4 separate regions of the Homo sapiens genome follow, and regions 1, 2 and 3 are each linked to region 4. The links are contacts of gene promoters, found by promoter capture Hi-C in blood cells and fetal thymus (Javierre and others, 2016). All regions are on one chromosome and are shown on one strand. Each heading gives the region's core, a stretch centred on a gene start or on the middle of the fragment in contact. The rest is flanking DNA. Distances are from core to core; before and after follow the strand shown. Region 1 overlaps LINC01476 (long intergenic non-protein coding RNA 1476). Region 2 overlaps LOC105371847 (a long non-coding RNA gene). Region 3 overlaps LINC01476 (long intergenic non-protein coding RNA 1476). Region 4 holds the start of YPEL2 (yippee like 2).

Region 1 (2,815 bases), core at 173-2,672, 180 kb before region 4:
GTACAAGACCAGCCTGGGCAACATGGTGAAATCCTGTCTCTACAAAAAATACAAAAATTAGCCAGGCATGGTGGTGCACACCTGTGGTCCTAGCTACTCAGGAGGCTGAGGTGGGAGGATCTCTTGATACCAGGAGGTTGAGGCTGCACCACTGCACTCCGGCCTAGGTGACAGAGAGACCCTGTCTCAAAAAAAAAAAATTTCAGTAAATATAAATATAACAATATATTATAGTATACAATATATAAATATTATATACTAATGTATAAATATATAAAATATGATATGATAATATATAAAATAGAAATAAGAACCAAGGCAGTCTAAAAAGCATCTCCATCAATCTATATTTCTTCACATGGCATTCCAGGATTTTCATAGCCTGGCCCTCACTTTCTCTCCAGCCTTATCCCTTGCTATTTCTCTTTGTATATTTTGACTTCCACAGTGTCTGATTGCTCTCAGTGTCCTAAATAGGTCAATGTTTGCTCATACTTTCACACCTTAGAACACAAGGGTAGGGTCCCCTGCTGGGGTGTGAAATAACTTCTGTTCCTGCACCTCCTCTTCAGCTGTCACCTTCTCTGTGAGGCCATCCTTAACTCCCCAGGCTGAGTAGACACCCCACCTTAGGTTTCTCGAGCATTTGGGCACACACCTTTACATCTATGCTTCCCAGACTTTCCTGAATATACGACTCAACTTTAGTGTTAGTTAAAAAACAGATTCTAGGCCAGGTGCAGCGGCTCATGCCTGTAATCCCAGCACTTTGGGAGGCCGACGCGGGCAGATCACAAGGTCAAGAGATGGAGACCATTCTGGCCAACATGGTGAAACCCTGTCTCTACTAAAAATACAAAAAAAAAAAAACCTAGCTGGGTGTGGTGGCGCGCACCTGTAGTCCCAGCTACTCAGGAGGCTGAGGCAGGTGAATCGCTTGAACCCGGGAGGCAGAGGTTGGAGTGAGCCGAGATTGCGCCATTGCACTCCAGCCTGATGACGGAGTGAAACTCTGCCTCAAAAAAACAACAACAACAAAAAAAAAACCAGATTCCAGATTCTAAAACCTCAGAATTTACATGAGAAAAGTCTGGTAAGTTAAGTTCCATATTTCACAAGCGGCCCTGGGGATTCCCATCATTAGAAAAGTTTTGAAAACATTGCTCTGTATCATGACACTTCTCATATTGCATTACAACTATTTGAATTACTGGACTCTCAATAGCCTGTGACCTGCATCTGTTCATTATTGTATTCCCAGTCCCAATACAATGCCCAACTCATGGAAGGAAGCAAAATATGAATGAATGAAAATTCAAATGTGTATGTTTCATTTATTCATTTTTATTTTATTTTATTTTGAGACAGAGTCTCACTCTGTCACACAAGCTGGAGTACAATGTCATAATCTCAGCTCACTGCAACCTCTGCCTCTTGAATTCAAATGATTTTCATGCCTCAGCCTCCTAAGTAGCTGGGACTACAGCAATGTGCCACCACTCCTGGCTAATTTTTGTATTTTTAGTAGAGATGGGGTTTCATGATGTTGCCCAAGCTGGTCTCAAAATCCTGGGCTCAAGCAATCCTCCCACCTCAGCCTCCCAAAGTACTGGGATTACAGGCTTGAGTCACTGCACCCAGCAAGTTGCTCTAAATATGTTTGTTCCTCTCTCTTAGCACCTCAACTAGGGACTTCTTTTCCAGTATCCAGATGCTACACATCACCAAAAGCTCACCAGTGGTGGGATTATGACTCAGTTTTCTTTGTATGAAGAGAACGTTAATAGTTCCTACTTCATGAGTTTTTTTTTGTGAAAAGTAAATGGAATAATACACGTAAAACACTTAGTACGATGTCTAATATTAGGAAGTACTAAGTAAATGAGGTAATAATAATGACAAAGACCAGTCAGACAGAGTCACTTGGGAGATGTCATTCCCCTTGTGAAGCCAAAGTACAAAAAAGGAGCCCACAAAGTCATGCTTTCAGCCGTCCTGAAGGGTACACTGCAAGATTTAAAAAACCCTTTCTGGCAGAGCACGGTGACTCACACCTGTAATCCAGCACTTTGGGAGGCTGAGGTGTGCTGATCGCTTGAGCCCAGGAGTTCAAGACCAGCCTGGGCAACATGGTGAAACCCCGTCTCCACTAAAAAGACAAAAATCAGCAGAGGAAGGTAGTGCATGCCTGTAGTCCCAGCTACTCGGGAGGCTGAGGTGGGAGGATTGCTTCAGCCCAGGAGGCAGAGGTTGCAGTGAGCTAAGATGGCATCACTGCACTCCAGCCTCAGTGAAAGAATGAGACCCTGTCTCAAAAAATAAATAAATAAAAATACAAACCCTTTCTTCTGTTGCCAAATGTCAACATCCTTTCTGATTCAGCCTCTCTTCCCCATCACTGTAATAACCCACATTTCATGGCAAAAAATAGTATTATCAAGAGAGACAAGAATTGTTGGCACACGAATACAAACTTTGTCGCTATCTGGAAGAGTTTGTTCTTGGAGATTTTCTCTAAATATTTGTCCTTCGCATTCTTAGCTTCTTGTAATGTTTAGTACCTTCCCATAAACACTGATTTCCAAAGGATCAGAACTTTAATCACCATCTTGACATCTCCCCACAATGTCCGGTACCAATACATCAATACCAGAATGTCATTGTTTCTGTGCTAGGGGAAAGATGATGGCCAAATATTCTGGGTCCAAAGAGAATGCAGGTTATTGACTCTTTTTAACAGACAAAGAAATGCAAAATGACAGAAGGCCACATTGTTGCCTAATCCTGGACAACAAAGGAGAAGAAACATTAACCC
Region 2 (2,700 bases), core at 56-2,555, 200 kb before region 4:
AATTTTTTGTATTTTTAGTAGAGACGGGGTTTCTCCATATTGGTCAGGCTGGTCTCCAACTCCCGACCTCAGGTGATCCGCCTGCCTCGGCCTCCCAAAGAGCTGGTGTTACAGGCATTAGCCATCGCACCCAGCCTCAGGTAAAAATTTAAAAGGTGCTGGTAGTAGTGTATTTCATAACTTCCTCTTCTGTTTCCCTTGAAACCTTCAGTAAAAACATTACTCTCCAGTATTTTTGTAGTGGGATTTGCATTGTTTGGATGAGATGACATTTGAGAGGGGCCTTCCTAGGGAATCACAGAGTGCCGAGGAGGCTCAGGTACGTTCACATTACAGATCAGAGAGGGGAAAGGAAGGACTCCATTCTTTCATGTTTATTTGTCACAGACAAAGAGGAGATGCACACTCATTTGTGTTTAAATTCATCTAGTCTGCAAATGTGCACACATTTAAATTTCATTCATTCACTTATTACTCATCAGCTTAACAAATATCACTGCAGCTCCTACTGTTTGCCAGGTACTGTGCTAAGTTGTTCCTAGGGATAAACACCAAGTAATACAAACCTGCTTGCTGTCCTATTGTAGCTTACAGTTTAAAACTATATAGTCTAGTGTGAGGACAAGACCCAAAAGAAGTTATGAATAAATATAGTGTCTAAAGATACTATAATGTATGTTGTTGTTGTTATTTTTTAAAAAGCAAAACTGGCCGGGTGTGGTGGCTTACACCTGTAATCGCAGCACTTTGGGAGGCTGAGGCGGGTGGCACACCGGAGGTCAGGAGCCTGACCAACTTGGTGAAATCCCGTTTCTACTAAAAATACAAAAATCAGCCAGGCATGGCGGTGGGCGCCTGTAGTCCCAGCTACTTAGGAGGCTGAGGCAGGAGAATCGCGTGAACTCAGGAGGCAGAGGTTGCAGTGAGCTGAAACCGTGCCATTGCACTCCAGCCTGAGCAACAAGAATGAAACTCTGTCTCTCGGCCAGGCGCGGTGGCTCACGCCTGTAATCCCAGCACTTTGGGAGGCCGAGGCGGGCGGATCACGAGGCCAGGAGACCGAGACCATCCTGGCTAACGCGGTGAAACCCCATCTCCACTAAAAATACAAAAATTAGCTGGGCGTGGTGGCGGGCACCTGTAGTCCCAGCTACTTGAGAGGCTGAGGCAGGAGAATGGCATCAACCACCCAGGAGGCGGAGCTTGCAGTGAGCGAGACAGTGCCATTGCACTCCAGCCTGGACGACAGAGCGAGACTCCGTCTCAAAAAATATATATAAAAAAATTAAAAAAAGAATGAAACTTTGTCTCAAAAATAAATAAAAATTAAAAAATAAAAAAGCAAAACTTTTCAGATAATTTAGTTATAAGCAAATTGCAATGTTTTACTACAATCTGACTGCAAGGAAAAGGCCTCTAGCAGACCAATCCAAAGATTCACTCTTGGCAGAAATATTTTATAGGAAAACAGAAAGGTTAATCACTTTTAGATTAGATACAAAAGAATGTTTGTTTAAGGTCACTCTACTTAGTTAAATGGCCAGGTGATTGGTTTTCCCAGAACAAGTCGTAATTTAAAGTTCAGAAAAATTCCTTAAGTATTTTATCAGGAATGCAATTCTCTCCCCAGAAGGAGCTTGTGAATTATATTCCAAAAAATATTCCATCCCAGTCCACGTTTGGAACAATTTTTCTCCTATTGAATATTTTAAAATGTAGTTTTACAAGATGGTTCAATGTACTTATTCATCTCAATTTTTAGCAGCAAATACGTTTCATTTCCTTATGTCTGTCCATACTTAGAACATAGTAATTGTTCCTTTCAGTTGTGAAACAAACAAAGGGTTAAGTTGGAGAATCACAATGGAAGTCCTAGTTTAAATAGAACGGACTGGGAAGACCTCTCTGAAGGGGTAAATTTGAGTTGCAGAAGTCATATTTAAGTTGAGGTCTAAAGGGAGACAAAAAAAGCTACTCAAGTGAGATGATAAGGAAACACATTTCACAGGGAAACAGCTTTACAGAGGCCCTTAGGAAAGGAAAGTGACTTTGAAGATGGTATTACCTGAGGAGGCCAACACAGAAAGTTGAAATTGATGCAGAAAGTTCAGAGATGGGTTCTGATTGGTCCATTCTGATGGGTTTTCTCTTCAAAGCAACCCTTCGAGGTACAGTACTAAGAGTAGTATGGGAAGAACTAGGATGAGGTGCTATTACCAGAGAAAAGGGGATCAGAACCCAAGAAATGGGGAGGCAGAGGGAGTGACTCTCCTTAATATTTCCATATCCACAGACAAAAAGGAGACTTGTAGAAATAGACTCCCTGGGGGGTCCACACTGCACTATCCGTGCCTGCTCTTCCTTCAGGGAAAGATGAGTGACTTACCTGATTGCTGACATCAGGACAAGCCATTAGAAGCAGGAACCAGGAGCCATGCACTGAAAAGGGGGTTTGTTCTCTCACATATGCTTGCTATGCTATCTCTTCTGCAGTGCCAGGGTTTATGAAACAGATCTTGATCCTATGCACCACTGGCTTAAGGAGTGTCTTCCTGGCAGAGCCAACTTTTTCTAAAGATAGATTGGAAAGCCTGGATGTGAATAGAATTAGTGAAAGCCCTACTTCAGCTTTGGACTTAAGCCACATTGCTTCAACACAAGTTACAAGGAAACCCTCCCCAGATCTGCTTTCGGAGGGGT
Region 3 (2,731 bases), core at 200-2,699, 160 kb before region 4:
GTACATGTTTTGGAAAATCTTACGTAGGAAATAAACAGGGTGCACTGATAGAGTCACTCATGGGGGAGAGCAGTTTTGGATAGGGTGGTCAGGGAAGGCCTCTCTGAGGAGGTGACAGTTAACTGAGACCTCAAGGTTGAAAAGGAAACAGCCACCGTGCAAAGATCAGGCAAAGGGCAGGGAACATGTGTTCCAGGCAGAAGGAGCTGAAAGTGTAAAGGCTTGGAGGTGGGAAAAGAGCTTTGTGGGAAAACCAGGATGTATGGCAACTGTTTGACTTTGGAGGAAATTAAAGACATATTTGCAAGCCACATGGAGAGTGGAAGGAAGACAAATGCGACTGGAGGAAGGGCCAGGTGGAGAGTGGGAGAGACGAGGCTGGACAGGAGCTCAGAGAATGTAGGGCAGGCCCTGTAGGCCAGGGTGAAGATGACGGTTTTTATTCCAAGTGTAGTGGGAAGCCAAGAAGAGTTTTAAAGAGCCGAGTCATGCAATCTGGTTTATCTTTCTAAAAGATCGCACTTGCTGCTCTATGAAGAAGGACTTGGGGAGAAACAAGTAGAATCAGGGAGAACAGTCCGAGGGCGATTAAAATAATCCAGACGGAAGATGACTACGTTTTAGTCTGAAGTGATAGGAGTGGTGATGGAGAAAAGCAGACGTCTGCGAGTTTTATTTTGGAGATAGAGCCACAGGACTTGGTAAGGATTGGGCATGCGGGGAGGCAAGGGGAAGGGAAGAGTCAAGGAAGCCTCCCAGGTTGCTGGCTTGGGCCTCGGTCTGCAGGGTGAAGCTGTTTATGGAGAGGTGGAAGACTAGGGGAAGAATAAGGATGGAAAGATTTTTAAGATGAAGATGTCCACGAGACATCCAGGGGAAATATCAAGCCGGTAGATCGCTGCCTGAACCTGGAGCCCAGATGACAAGTTTGAGCTGGAGGATCTTTTTTCTAATCTCTTAGTGGTCAAGTAGGCATCTCGGGTCAACCCAGCTTATGCCAAAAGAGACCTCCACCAGGCCTGTATGGACCTGTTAAAACTCTATATGGGGCTTAGATGTGAAGCCCCACTTAGTAAAAAGCATCCCTATACCCTGCTTTGTCATAAGTGCACATATTTTCTTTGAAGAAAAGGATTGCTAGTCAAAAACAAGATTTGAGAATTCCTAGGTCCCTGACTTAATACCCTCATAATCTTGCCCTTAGAGTTCCAATTTTAACATGACTTAACGGTATATTTAAAGAGAAAGCCCCAGAGTCCAGTTGGAGTGACAGACAATATTGTCCTCATGGGGAGACATGGGCCCATAGTAAGAGATAAAGTTCCAAAGCTTTTCCTTCTGGTTGTCATGGCAACAGCAGCAAGCGCTCTAGAGGTGGGAAGGAGGACAAGGAGGAGAGAGGAGCAACCAGAAGCTATGGTGGCTGTTAGTCTGCAGAAAATAATTCAAGACAGATATTTGCAAGCTGCATGGAGCACACGCCCTGTACATCCAGGTTAGTTGTAAGTATACAGTTTGTAAGTGGACAATTTGTTCTTTTTAAGAACCAGAGATACACATAAAAGCTTTGTCAGACTAGGGGGCCAGGAGTACATCATGCATCTGTTTTTTTTTTTTTTTTTTTTTTTTTTTTTTGAGACGGAGTCTCGCTCTGTCGCCCAGGCCGGACTGCAGACTGCAGTGGCGCAATCTCGGCTCACTGCAAGCTCCGCTTCCCGGGTTCACGCCATTCTCCTGCCTCAGCCTCCCCAGTAGCTGGGACTACAGGCGCCCACCACCGCGCCCGGCTAATTTTTTGTATTTTTAGTAGAGACGGGGTTTCACCTTGTTAGCCAGGATGGTCTCGATCTCCTGACCTCATGATCCACCCGCCTCGGCCTCCCAAAGTGCTGGGATTACAGGCGTGAGCCACCGCGCCCGGCCCATGCATCTGTTTTATCCCTTGCACTGAGTGGACTGCCTGGGGCTCCATGTACTTGAATAAATGAGCAAATGAGGTCTCAAAAGAAGAGTCACTACCCTGCTTATTTCATATGGGTTCAAAAGTTGCCAGGTGGATAGAGCCTTTGGATAAAGATTTTAGTTTACATCAGAACCATATGCATATTGTGGTCAGTGATTACAGAGTGACAAGAAGTGAAAAGAAGGCTAGCCCCCAAGCCAAAAGCCCAAGTCGGTGGGAAGTGGGACGTAGGTCTCGTTCCCCAAGATAGAAGCTGAAAATTATTCACTAACCATGGATAGGATGTTATATAATTGTACACTTCCCATCAGGATCCAGTTTATGATAGTTTTAGACTACATTCTTTTTTTTTCTCTCTTTTTTTTTTTTTTTGAGACAGAATCTCGCTCTATTGCTCAGGCTGGAGTGCAGTGGGGTGATCTTGGCTCACTGCAACCTCTGCCTCCCGGGTTCAAGAGATTCTCCTACCTCAGCCTCCCGAGTAGCTGGGACTACAGGCGTGTGCCACCATGACCAGCTTTTTTTATTATTATTATTTTTAAATAGAGATGGGGTTTCACCATATTGGCCAGGCTGGTCTCAAACTCCTGGCCTCATGTGATCCTCCTGCCTTGGCCTCCCAAAGTGCTGGGATTACAGGCGTGAGCCACCACACCCGGCCTGGACTAGATTCTTGAGGTGATTAAATATCATCTGTAACTGGGAATGTAACAAAGGCTGTGGAAGTAAGGAAAGGTGATGGTGTGATAAAGAATACAGACAAAAGGG
Region 4 (2,744 bases), core at 119-2,618:
GCTCTGTGAGGCACAGGGAAGCTGACCGCTACCCTTCTTGCCCAATGCTTTGGAACAAGGAAGAACAAGGAAGGAAGGGCAGGGAGGAAAAGACAGCTGTCTCGTTAGCCTTCAGATTCACCAAAGGCAAGGACTCACTCAAGAGCCTCCCAAGTTGCAAGGACAGCAAATCAGCAAGGAGGCCAGAAAGCAAAAACCCCAGCAAAGCTTCGGAGCAGTTCTCTGGGGCCTTTCACAGCGGCGGGACTGGGGGGCGGGCGAGGGTGCAGCTCCGCTCCAAGCGGAGGAAAACAAGACACTCGCTCACCTGGCTTTTTAAACTCTCGCAGCTAAGACTGAAGGCAGAGGTAGCAATCTTCCGGACAAGAAGTCCAGAAGAACAGGTGTCCCCCACCCCCGCACGCCCCCAAGACCGGAGAAAAGCCCACCACTCCGGGAAAGACACCAGAGGAGGTCGGCGGCCAAGCAGGGTGAACTGGAAGTGGCGAAAGGTCGGGGCCGCCCCTAAGCGCCAGCTCCGGGGAGGCGCTCGCGGCAGAGGCTCCCGCGTTCCGTCGGGCAGGACCTCGCGCCCACCCCCTTGGCAAGGACACCGGGGAGGCGCCGAGACGCGGCCAGGGAGGAACTCGGCTGCGGTTACCTCGACCCGGGTCGGGGCAGACGACGCGCTCCGAGAAATTTCGAGGGCGCCCAGTCCCACAGTGGAAGGCCCCCAGGGCGGCGCCCCTGGACCTAAGTGTCCCCAGGACTCTCCGAGGGAAACGCGGCGTCACGAGAGGACGGAGGGCGTCCCCAGCCCCACCCGGACCCCATGGAGTCCGAACCCATGGGGACGACGCGGAGGAGGAAGCGGCGATTCCAGCTCCGCACCCCCGCCCCAAACCTGGCCCCGCAGACTCGCCCAGCCCCTGGCGCGCGTCTCCCGCCCCGGCCGGGGGTCCCGCGCCCTTGGGCTCCCTCCGCGAGCGGCCGCGGGCCCGGCAGTGTTTGTAAACAAACCGGTCACGTGGCCCGGCGGCCGCTCCCCGTCCCCGGCGCCCACGGGGACCCCACGCGGAACCGAGGGCGCCGCACCCCCAACCCCGCGCAGGCCCGGCCGGGGGAGTCCGGAGGCCGGGGCCGGGGACCCAGAGCCCGAGCTGACAGCGCGCCCCACGCCCACGCGCGCCCGGCCCGCGCCGCACTCCGGTGCACTTACCCGGCGACAGGCGGCCCTGTCCGGCCAGCGTGGGGCTTGGCTCCGCTGGGGTGCGCAGCGGCGAAGCGCGGCCCGGCTGGGGCTCGGGCTCCCGGCACGCTCTTAAAGCCACAGTCTCCGCCACCGCCGCGGCCGCCACTCCGCATCCCTCCGGGTCCGGGCCGGGGGCTACCCCGTGATGGACGCGCCCCCGCACCTATCCCCTCGGCTCAGCACATAGCAACACGCCGCGGGTTGGCCGGGCGCAGCCGCAGCCCATCCGCGCAGAGCCAATCATCAGAGGACGGAACTCCGCCCCCCGCTTCCCCGACCGCCCACTCCCCCACCCCTCGGCCCGGCCCAGCCTGGGCTAGGGGAGAGCGGCTGGTTAGGGTCCCGCCCGTCCCGGCAACTTGCCGGAGGGCAGGGACCCAGAGTGCCAAAGCTGGGTGGGCTCTCAGCGCCTAGGAGGAGGCCGTTTATTTGAGTTTGGGGTTTGTCCCCAGGGCAGGGCTGGGATTCCCAGAACCTGGGTTGTATTTTGGGGCGGGGGGATTTGCAGTGCATCTCCCTGGAGGCTCAAGATAGTCATTCCTTTCTTACGTTTTAAACCTCGCCCTAAGCCATAGCCTAAGTTACCAGAAGTGGCCCTCAGGCCCCGGGTAATTGAATTTAAAATGATAGGGGGGAGGGGGGAGGGATAGCATTAGGAGATACACCTAATGCTAAATGACGAGTTAATGGGTGCAGCACACCAACATGGCACATGTATACATATGTAACAAACCTGCACATTGTGCACATGTACCCTAAAACTTAAAGTATAATAATAATAAAATTAAAAGAAAATGATAGTGCTAGTTGCACCCAGCCCACCCATGCCTTGCTCAGAAGCCAGGCATTTCCCCTCTTCTCTCTGCCCTGCTAGTAATTTCGGCGAATTAAAAGTACGAAAGGGGCTTAGTGGAATTGAAGACCGCCCCATTGCTGCTAATTTTCCATGACTTTCAGAGGCAGATGACGGTAATTAGAGTGGGATGGTCCGAGTGACCAGAGGGGAGGAGTCCACGTTCTGGGTCACCGGGGTGGTGCTTTTCAAGGAAGAGCAGGTTAAAAAATAACCTCGTGGCAGTCAGGAAACCAGGGAGGCACCAGGTGGGTGGAGTGGGGCAGTTTCCCAGCAGGAAAACAGGACAGTTTGATAAAGAATGTTGGCACGGACAAGGTGAACAAAGCAGGTCCTGCCTTTCGCTCAAGACACTGGGGTTCCGCAGTTCCTCTGGGAACTCTTCCTCCAAGGAAACTAGTGTTTTACTGTGCAGCCATCAGGATGTGAGGTGCTGCAGGAGGTGCAGCTGACTCTCCGCCTTCCACACACTGGTTTGCACGTACACCCAGAATGCTGGCTCACCTGCATCTCCACCCAGCTGTTTTTAAAATATGCTTGGTCAACCAAATTGTATTCAGTTAATATCTATTGCATGTGAATCCAGTCACCAAGGTTAGTAAAAACAACAAAACACCCCAAATACCTCAGTATTGTGGGGCTGACATATCAGCCTCAGAT

Evidence for each region. The method cuts DNA at HindIII sites, captures the fragments that hold promoters and counts their contacts. A CHiCAGO score of 5 or more calls a contact.
Region 1: a contact is called between a fragment that was not itself captured here and the fragment with the promoter of YPEL2 in region 4, in 6 of 17 cell types (M2 macrophages, M0 macrophages, M1 macrophages and 3 more). The highest score is 10.6, in M2 macrophages.
Region 2: a contact is called between a fragment that was not itself captured here and the fragment with the promoter of YPEL2 in region 4, in 4 of 17 cell types (M1 macrophages, M2 macrophages, M0 macrophages and 1 more). The highest score is 8.2, in M1 macrophages.
Region 3: a contact is called between a fragment that was not itself captured here and the fragment with the promoter of YPEL2 in region 4, in 5 of 17 cell types (M1 macrophages, M2 macrophages, M0 macrophages and 2 more). The highest score is 9.4, in M1 macrophages.

The regions. Positions count from the first base shown.
Region 1 is chr17:59,514,375-59,517,189 of GRCh38, reverse strand. All of the region lies in intron 1 of LINC01476 (long intergenic non-protein coding RNA 1476), which reads left to right. Among named protein-coding and RNA genes, the nearest start is that of LINC01476, 11 kb to the left of the region's middle. The HindIII fragment of the contact is 5,725 bases long and covers 1-2,815 here.
Region 2 is chr17:59,530,609-59,533,308 of GRCh38, reverse strand. It overlaps LOC105371847 (a long non-coding RNA gene), which reads right to left. Exons shown (of 3, transcript XR_934889.2): 2 at 2,387-2,571. Among named protein-coding and RNA genes, the nearest start is that of LINC01476, 5.1 kb to the right of the region's middle. The HindIII fragment of the contact is 4,066 bases long and covers 1-2,700 here.
Region 3 is chr17:59,492,715-59,495,445 of GRCh38, reverse strand. All of the region lies in intron 2 of LINC01476 (long intergenic non-protein coding RNA 1476), which reads left to right. The region is part of intron 2 of LOC124904040 (a long non-coding RNA gene); the gene reads right to left. Among named protein-coding and RNA genes, the nearest start is that of LINC01476, 33 kb to the left of the region's middle. The HindIII fragment of the contact is 236 bases long and covers 1,332-1,567 here.
Region 4 is chr17:59,330,279-59,333,022 of GRCh38, reverse strand. It overlaps YPEL2 (yippee like 2), which reads right to left and starts at 1,368. Exons shown (of 5, transcript NM_001005404.4): 1 at 1,199-1,368. RefSeq lists an enhancer at 311-872 and a silencer at 1,083-1,602. The HindIII fragment of the contact is 8,765 bases long and covers 210-2,744 here.